Linked DNA regions of Homo sapiens: regions 2 and 3 are each linked to region 1. Evidence: promoter capture Hi-C in human tissues and cell types (Jung and others, 2019). All regions are on one chromosome and are shown on one strand. Each heading gives the region's core, a stretch centred on a gene start or on the middle of the fragment in contact. The rest is flanking DNA. Distances are from core to core; before and after follow the strand shown. Region 1 holds the start of ZNFX1 (zinc finger NFX1-type containing 1). Region 2 overlaps B4GALT5 (beta-1,4-galactosyltransferase 5). Region 3 overlaps B4GALT5 (beta-1,4-galactosyltransferase 5).

The links. The method cuts DNA at HindIII sites, captures the fragments that hold promoters and counts their contacts. A contact is called where the count stands out against the background at its distance.
Region 2: a contact is called between a fragment that was not itself captured here and the fragment with the promoter of ZNFX1 in region 1, in 2 of the 25 tissues and cell types used here (aorta and dorsolateral prefrontal cortex).
Region 3: a contact is called between a fragment that was not itself captured here and the fragment with the promoter of ZNFX1 in region 1, in 1 of the 25 tissues and cell types used here (hippocampus).

What each region holds. Positions count from the first base shown.
Region 1 is chr20:49,276,598-49,279,453 of GRCh38, reverse strand. It overlaps ZNFX1 (zinc finger NFX1-type containing 1), which reads left to right and starts at 1,397. Exons shown (of 14, transcript NM_021035.3): 1 at 1,397-1,433. It overlaps ZFAS1 (ZNFX1 antisense RNA 1), which reads right to left and starts at 1,276. Exons shown (of 4, transcript NR_036658.2): 1 at 738-1,276; 2 at 246-350. It overlaps SNORD12C (small nucleolar RNA, C/D box 12C), which reads right to left and starts at 509; the gene lies at 431-509. RefSeq lists enhancers at 693-892, 768-1,062, 820-1,320, 1,321-1,821, 2,163-2,222 and silencers at 983-1,342, 1,393-1,622. The HindIII fragment of the contact is 7,798 bases long and covers 1-2,856 here.
Region 2 is chr20:49,696,754-49,699,609 of GRCh38, reverse strand. The region is part of intron 1 of B4GALT5 (beta-1,4-galactosyltransferase 5); the gene reads left to right. Among named protein-coding and RNA genes, the nearest start is that of B4GALT5, 16 kb to the left of the region's middle. The HindIII fragment of the contact is 5,555 bases long and covers 1-2,856 here.
Region 3 is chr20:49,661,824-49,664,679 of GRCh38, reverse strand. The region is part of intron 1 of B4GALT5 (beta-1,4-galactosyltransferase 5); the gene reads left to right. Among named protein-coding and RNA genes, the nearest start is that of B4GALT5, 51 kb to the left of the region's middle. RefSeq lists an enhancer at 2,454-2,748. The HindIII fragment of the contact is 3,209 bases long and covers 1-2,856 here.

The DNA.
Region 1 (2,856 bases), core at 148-2,647:
AGGGTTTCACCATGTTGGCCAGGCTGGTCTCCAAATCTTGACCTCAGGTGACCCATCTGCCTTGGCCTCCCCAAGTGCTGGGGTTACAGGCGTCAGCCACAGCGCCCGGCCGTCAGAACACTTTTTTAAATACCTAATAAATGCTCGATAGAAAGTGCTTTGTTAAATCCCACGTTTTCCTAGAAAACTAAAGCTTCTCAAAGCACGTGTTTTCTACAGTAGACCCATAGGAGACAAAGACTTACTCGTCAGGAGATCGAAGGTTGTAGATGTCTGCACGTGGCTTCCTTGGAGGTCCAGTGGTGACTCCCTCTTCCAAAATCCATTCTGTACCCGCTGGCTGCTCTAACCTGTGAACCAACAAATAAAGGGCGTTAACCGCCATCTTCCCACGGTCAGAAACGAACAAGGCCGGGCCTTTTGAGGCCGATGTATCAGAACTAACTGGCAAAATATAAGACGTCAGCATTGTCGATCTGATGGGGAAAAAAGTGAAGTCATCATTTACACCAGCCAAGGGCTTCTCAGGCCCGTGCAGAAGGCAGTGGCTTTTCCAGCTCCAGAAACTCATTTCTCCCACGCCCTTAAGGCCTATTTGGGGTCAGAGACGGAGAAGCCACGAGAAGGAGATTAGGGCTGGCCGCAGAGACGACGGCACAAAGAAGGGAAGGGAGGACCAGAGGTCTCCAACGAAGAACATGGAGTTTCCACTCACCACACACAAAACGGGAACTTACGGGCAGGACAATAGCGTATGAAGCCTGACTGCAACTAGGAGAAGTACCACACTCCGGGCACCGCAGACGCGAAAGAACGAATGGCTTCCTGAACCTCCCTTATATAACCAAAGATGGCTTTCGCACCTGCGCACTGGACCCGAAACGCTCTCTTTCCCGCCCGCTCCGCGCGCGTCGCTCTGGGAAATGTAGTCTCGAGCAGCACAGCCCGAGGCGCTCTAGTAGTTGTCCAGGCCGCGTCTAGCCCCGCCCCCTTCCCTCTACACGCCGGGCCACCCGGGCTTGTCCGCTTCCTCGCCATGTCGCGCTTCACACGCACCAAACCGCTCGACGGGTTCCCCTTCCTCTGGGGCCGGCTGAGGCCCGCAAAGGCCTTGGGCGCAGTCATCTCCCGCCCCCCGCGGTCCGCTCCCCTCAGCCGCGCCCGCCTGAGCCCGCCGGCTCCGCCGCCGGGGGGAGCTGAGGTGACGCCCTCCTCGAGGGCGGAGGCGCCGGCCGTGCCTGGGCCAGGCCCTCGTGCTCTCCACCCTGGGCCCCCGCCTCCTCCTTCTCCTCCTCTGGGCCGCCCGCCCGGCTCCGCCCAGGGTCTGCGGGGAACGGAAACCGAAAGTGCGCGGCGCCGGGCGGGGCCACCGACCTGCCTGGGCCGAAGCCCCAGCACTCGCCGGCGGCAGTGAAAGGACGCGCCGGAGCCGGGTGAGTGGCCCCGCAACTGCCCCTGCCCCTGATTCTTCCTTGCCTCGCCGCGAACCCCGGCGCCCGCGCCGACCCGCCACTGCCTCTGCCCGTAAGACCTGTCACCCTCTCAAGCCCCCAACGCACCCGTCACCCGCTCAGAGCCCCTGGCCCCTCAGCGCCCCGTCGCCCCCTCAATCCCCAGACCCCCATCACCCACTCAGAGCCTTGTCACCTCTTTGGCCCCCAGCGGCATCAGCACCCACTCAGAGCGCCTCTCAGCGCCCCGTCTCCCCCTCAGACCCCAGACCTCCATCGCCTACTCAGCGCCCCGTCACCCACTCAGCCCCTGGCCCATCTCAGCGCCCCGTCGCCCCTTCGGCTCCCCTGTACTCTCTTTAGTGTCCCCATCCCCTCAGCTGGCCCGTCGCTCTCCCCAGCACCCCCGACACCGTCACCGCTTCTGCCCTCAGCACTTCGATCTCCTCTGCCCCTACCCCTGTCTGTGCCCTCCCTTCTGCCACTCGCACCCCCCTCATTCCTCCGGCCTCACCTCCTGTCACCTTATCAATCCCCCTCTTCTACAGAGCACCTCGGCACCCCCTTCAGCCTGCTCCCTGCCCCCACCCCGCCGCCTCCGTCCTCAGCAAGCACCCCCTGGTGCTCGCTACCACCCTCTCCCCAAGGCCCCCATAACCCCGCCACCTCACAGCCTTGGCGCTCCCTGACCCCATAACATTTCCATTAGGGACCGTGGGCTCCCTGGGTCAGGGATTCCCCAGGACCCTGGAGACTTCCCCCAAACCCAGCTCTGCCTCCGACCTCAGCCTCCTGCGTCCCACTCTGGTGATGACTAGCCCCTCTCATTCTGACTCCAGGCCAGCTTGATCATCACTGATTTTCTTCTTCGTGCCCTTTAGGCCTTGATTCCCCCCACCAAAAAAAAACACTTCAGTCTGTTTTCGATCCCAGCATTTCCTGTTCATGTCTACTCCTCCCTTCCTTCCCTTGCCTTTTTTTTAACATCTTTTTTTCTTTTCTTCCGTTTCTTTTAAATTTTCTGGAGTTTCTATTTTAGCATTTTTCAACAAGGGGAAGAAGGAATTTTCCCCTCGGAGAATTGAAAATAAACAAACAAACTCTAAATACTGAGCCTGCGCCAGGAGGGCTGGGTTTGATAAGATGAGGGAGGGGACTCACCAGAGATATTCCCAGGGGGAAGAAAAGAGACTCCTTTTTCAGATGAGGAAAAAAGCTGCCCCTCATATAATGCCAAATGTAGTCACAGTTTCCAATTATGAATATTTTAGAACTCAGTGAAGACAGTCTCAAAAATCCCTTTGCTGAGGACTCTGAGTCACCCACTCTTTCCTTAGCCCCAGCCCACACCATGTGTATGAGTTGGGTTGAGAAGCTCCCTTAAAGGGGCTTCCTCTTCCTCTTA
Region 2 (2,856 bases), core at 188-2,687, 420 kb before region 1:
ACTTTACCATAGGTATGTGTGTATAGGAAAAAGCAATGTATTTAGATCTGGTACTACCTGCAGTTTCAGGCACCCACTGGGGAATTTCAGAACGTATCCCTTGAAGATAAGGGAGGACTGCTGTATGATTCATAGCACAGTTTCAGATTAATCATGTCCGATGCAGTCAGATGCTTGATGGTTATATGGGGCCTGGTTTGTGGGCAAATGACTAGTGGGGTTTTTTTTTTTTTTTTTTTTTTGCCCATTTAGGATTCAAGATGGGTTTTAACCTTTTAAGTTACAATTAAGCACTTTGTGTCGTACAGTATGTATACAATAATGCTTTGAAATGGCTAGTCATGAATGTATTAATGGTTTGTCTTGCACTGAAACCTGAAATGTAGATGAAAAAGTTGATAAACATAAGGCAATCAGTACTGATTGTCATTGTCATCTACCCCAGTACATTCTAAGTGTGGTAGATACAGTAATTCTTATATGTTGCTATTAACGTCATTTCTGATTTTTGATTAGAAAAATATTTAGGTTAATGGCTTTCTTGTTGGTTTCAAATTTATAGTAAAAGCTATACCTTTATGTCTTGAATCTGCTTGCCAGTCTTTGCTTTGATAGGTGGTTTTTGCTTAGGCTACGATAAATTGTTTCATCTTTTCTAAAGAGGGATGAGGAAGTATTTACTTTGTGAAATTGGAAAACCGTGTGGTTGGTGTGGAAAATAAGCATGTTATTAATAAACAGCTAGTCTTGTGCTCCATACTCTTGGATGTAAGGTAGAAATAACCTTGCCTCTATTGCTGAGATTTAAAAAAATAAAAAGCTAGGCTACTACCCGTGCCTTCCTCGTCCACAACACAGGCACAGGGTGGCAGGTAGTGATGAGAAACAGGCTGCCAAGATGGTCCCTGGATGACTAGGAGGTGTGTGATGTGCGTCCAGTTGTCTGGATGGGGCAACTGGAATCCTTCATTGTGTGGTTCATGCTTGTGTGTGTGTGTGAATGCGAGAGTGGGAGGAAGTTCAATGTTTTGGCTTTGGTGTGGGATTAATTTTCTCTTCGATTGTTAATTTGGCATACCTGACTTTTTCATTCTGGTTTAAAGTATTAGAAATCTTAAGATTTGTGTGAATTAGAAGATTGGGATTTATTTGAATTTCATTTGGCACTAGGGAAAATTCACTTTAGGTAAGAGCTACTTTTTGGGTTGGCTTTATGTTCAAAGCAGTTTTTTCCTTAAGAGTTTCATTTTATTATGGAAATTTTCTTTTTTCTTTTTTTATTTTTTTGAGATGGAGTTTTGCTCTGTCCCCCAGGCCGGAGTGTGGTGCCACCGTCTCGGCTCACTGCAACCTCCACTTTCCAGGTTCAAGCAATTCTCCCACCTCAGCCTCCCGAGTATCTGGGATTACAGGTGCGTGCCACCATGCCCGGCTAATTTTTGTAGTTTTTACTAGAGATGGGGTTTCGCCATGTTGGCCAGGCTGGTCTTGAACTCCTGACTTCAGGTAATCTGCCTGCCTCTGCCTCTCGAGTAGCTGGGATTATAGGCATGAGCCACCGCGCCCGGCTGGAAATTTCCAAACATATAAAAGTAAACTTAATAGTACAGTATAATGGACCCCATGAACAAAAGTAATTTTTCTAACCTCAAAAGCAGGGGCAGTTTATTTAATCAGGTAAAAACTGAGCCTTAAAAGTCAGACTTTGCTAAAAGAAAACAGTATTTTTTTCACTGTCCTGAATATAACATTAAGGAAATAGGATTTGGTTAGGTCTAGATAACATTTAATAATTTCAACTGTGTTAAAGACAAAAGTAATTTTTGATGTGACCATGGACTTGTCATGAAAAATATAAAGGTGAAAGGGATTCCATCCCCCTTCCTCTAAACAGAATGGAACATAAGCACAGGTTTAGGCTAATTCATAACCTGGATTTTTAAAGCTTTTACATAGTTGGGTTTCATGTTGTTCAGATGTCTTACTAAACCAGGTATCTAAATGAGTGTTTTTCTGTTAAAAAAAAAAAAAAAAGGACATGTCCCCTTCCTCTGCCATCCCTTAATCACGGGGCTCCACTGGAATAGAGATGGGCGGATAAAGAAGGAAACTTAGTGTTAGCAGCTCCAGTGAACTGGTATGAGGTAGAGGAGGGTTGAAGCCATTGATCACAGTGACGTTTCCAGAGGATTTAAGCTTTCCCATTGTCCCATCCTTCATTTGAACCCTCAGAATGTACAGCCAGAAGTCCAAGAGCAAGCGTCTCTGCGAAGGGTAAACCTTCCAGGCTGTGCTCCCTCAAAGGCGCCGCTGCGCTTGAGGAGCAGGTGCTGTGGCTGCTGAAGTCAGGTGCTCTGGGAGCAGACAACAACTGCCTGGGTGTGTAGCACCTGTGTCCTTTTGGCTCCCCTGGCCTTGTCTTCTGAGACTCTGTTGTTAATTTCTTTAGCTGTTTATGTCAGCTTTGACCAAAGCCCACTGCAAAGCTTAGAAGGGTAAGGAGGCAACAATATCCCTTTGAAGACTTATTTTGGCACAGATTTTGTGATTTGTGAATAGTAACATTCCTCAGTAGCCACAAATTAAACAACATCGATCTAATTTTGGTATTAATTAGTTGTATAATTAAAATAGTAAAACCATCTGCATAGATTGAAGCTATAGTTTCAGGTTGTATTATATGTGTGAAAAACCGACTCTTCATTGTGAATTTTGAGTAGACTTCCCAGTAGATTATTTATGTAAGCTGTGTCATCAGAAACATTCCAGAATGAATCACGTTTAATTAGGATCTAACAAATGTTACCACCTTTGTTCTGTTGAACAATATTTTTAAACCATTAAATCAACTTGGTT
Region 3 (2,856 bases), core at 163-2,662, 390 kb before region 1:
AATATCTGATATACATTCCATGTTTAATTTTTCTCACTTGTCTCAAAAATATCTATTTTAGCACTCTGATTTTTCTATTCAGAATTTAGTCAAAGTTCATGTATTGCGTTTAGTTATGTCTCTAATCTAGAATAGCCCCTGCTTTTTTTTGGTCCAGATCAGTTATTTTGTAGAATATCCTATGTTCTTTCAGCCTGAAGAATCTAAAGTGTGTGTGTGTGTGTGTGTGTGTGTGTGTGTGTGTGTGTGTGTGTGTGTATTTGGAGACCTCATCTCTAAAAAAATATAAATGTTAGCTCTGTGTGTGGGGGCATTCCGCTGTGGTCCCAGCTCCTCCTGAGGCTGAGTTGGGAGGATCACTTGAGCCCAGGAGTTGGAGGCTTCAGTGAGCCATGTTCATGCCACTGCACTCCAACCTGGGTGACAGAGTGAGATCCCAACTCTTAAGGGATATTCTAGATTTATCTTCTTGTTTTCTCTTCAGTAGATTAGCAAGAATATTATATAGGAAGTAAATATCTTACATTGCATTAGGAGCCTGGAACTGTAGGTTGTTCTAATATTGGGGTTGCTGAGTTGAGACATTTGGTAAAGGGATGACCTGCTAGATCTTCCTCTTATGCAGCAAAATTACAAATGTCAGTTGTGATCAACATGTAATTTGTGGGGTGGTGCATTGAATATGTGTTTTGACTATCCTCTTCAACAACCCTTTCACCTGAGGGTTTTAGCATCCATTGATTTCCATGTCATGATTATGACCCAAATATGACTGTAATCAACAGACCTGCTAAACAGAGTTCCAGATTCTTTACGGTTCTTTTTGTCCTTACAGTATATCTCTCAAAGAATGTATCGGAGTACTTTTCCGTTGGTTGTGTTTTCAGTACAATGTATTATTAGAATTATTTGTTTGTGTTTGTATTTAGTTTTAGGGTTTGCCCATTTTTCATATATATATATATATATATATATATATATGTATATATTTTTTTTTTTTTTTTCTTGAGATGAATTCTCACTATGTTGCTCTGGCTGGACTTAAACTCCTGGGCTCAAGCCAGCCTCCTACTTCAGCCTCCCAAGCAGCTGGGACCATAGGTGTGTGCCACCATGCCCAGCTAGATAATTTTTTTAATACGTAAATGTCCAAAATATAAAAGGTGTACTCAGGCCTCAGTCCTACCCCTTCATTTTTATTAGTTTCTGGTTTACTCTTCCTATGTTTTTTTTTTTGTAAAAATATGTGAGTGCATATCAATTTCCCTTTATTAAGTAGCATAATATGTCTTGGAAGTCAATTCATGGGTTTTGCTCACCTTATTTTTGGGGAAGGTAAATTTTGTTGACATATAACATTAAAATGTGTACATGTAAGCAAAAAGCTTGGTGAATGTTTAGAAAATGAATATATCTGAATAACCAGCATCCAGGTTAAGAAATAAGATGACCAGAAGCCACCTTCAACTCTCCTGCACTCCAGGGTAGCCATTCTCCTGACTTTTATGTTGTAGATTAGCTGTGCCTGTTTTTGTATTTTATCTACATGGAATCATACCACATGTGTTCTTTTGTGTCTGGCTTCTTTGTGTCACATAAAGTGTGAGAGATTCATTCACGTGGGTGCATGCAGTTCTAGTTTATTTATTCCTGTTGCTGTATAGTATTCCAAAATCGGAATAGGCTACAAATATTTAATCTCTTCTGAGTTCTTTCTAGTTTTGGACTATAACAAATGTTTTCTCATTCTTTTTTATGGTCTCATGGTACTCATCCATGGGAGTGAGTATAAAAATGTATTCAACCAGTCTCCTTTGGATGGTCATTTAGGCTTTTTTCCCTAGTGTTTTTCTACTACAAATATTATTGCACAAGATTTTGAATAAACTTGTGCATTATAGTATGGAACATGTTTTTAAAAGCTTTATGAGGAATGAGAGTAACAGAACATTTTGGGGGGAAAGCTAATCTTTTTGGCAGTGCTGCTCAATTGGTGGAAAGGAATGACTGAGCTTTTCTTAGGAACAGGTTAGTGCAGTGAAACTGGTTAACTTACAGTATTTTGGGTTCCTCTCAGAAAGGAGGAGGGGGCTAATGCAAAATAAAGAGAAGGGCTTGAAATCCATCTCCATGCCTCCTGGAGCACAGCCAAGTTCAGAAAACTCTATATTGTCTCAACTTATTATTATTATTTTTTAAATTCAGATATTTATTATGCATCCTCTGTGTTCCCAACACACCATTCTAGCCACTGGGGGTACAGCATTAAAGGAAGTAGGCAACAGCCTTGCCCTAATGGAGCTCACATTCTTATGGGGGACAAGATAAATTTTAAAATATGTTGTATGTTAAGTAGAAAACCAAAGCAGAGGAGGGTGATTGGTGTTTGGGTGTGAGTGTGTGTGTGTTGTATGTTTGCATATGTTGGGGGTGAGATACAGATTGTAAAAAGTGGTCAGGAAGGGAATGGTTTCTTTTCTGGTTCTGAACCCTCTTTTAGCTTACCAAGCCAACCACAGCAAACATTAAGGATACACATTAAGGTTCAGTGAGAAAGGAGGAGGTTTTCCTGTTAGAATCAGAAGCAGAGAGGAAGAAAGGCACCATTGTGTGGCCAAGAGGTGGCTGAAGGGCAGGAAACCCAGTCCTTCGCCCCCGGAAGCTGTCCAGTTAAGCCATGGCCCAAGGCTGCTAACACTGGCATCTGAATGGAAATTTCTAATTGTGTAGACCTGAATGGGGCTTATTTTTCTCAACTGAATTATGGTTATATATAAGAGATCCCTCCTCCTAGATATGAGGCTGGATAATAATTACATTGTCTCATGAAAGTGTAAAACAAATTATTAGTAAGTG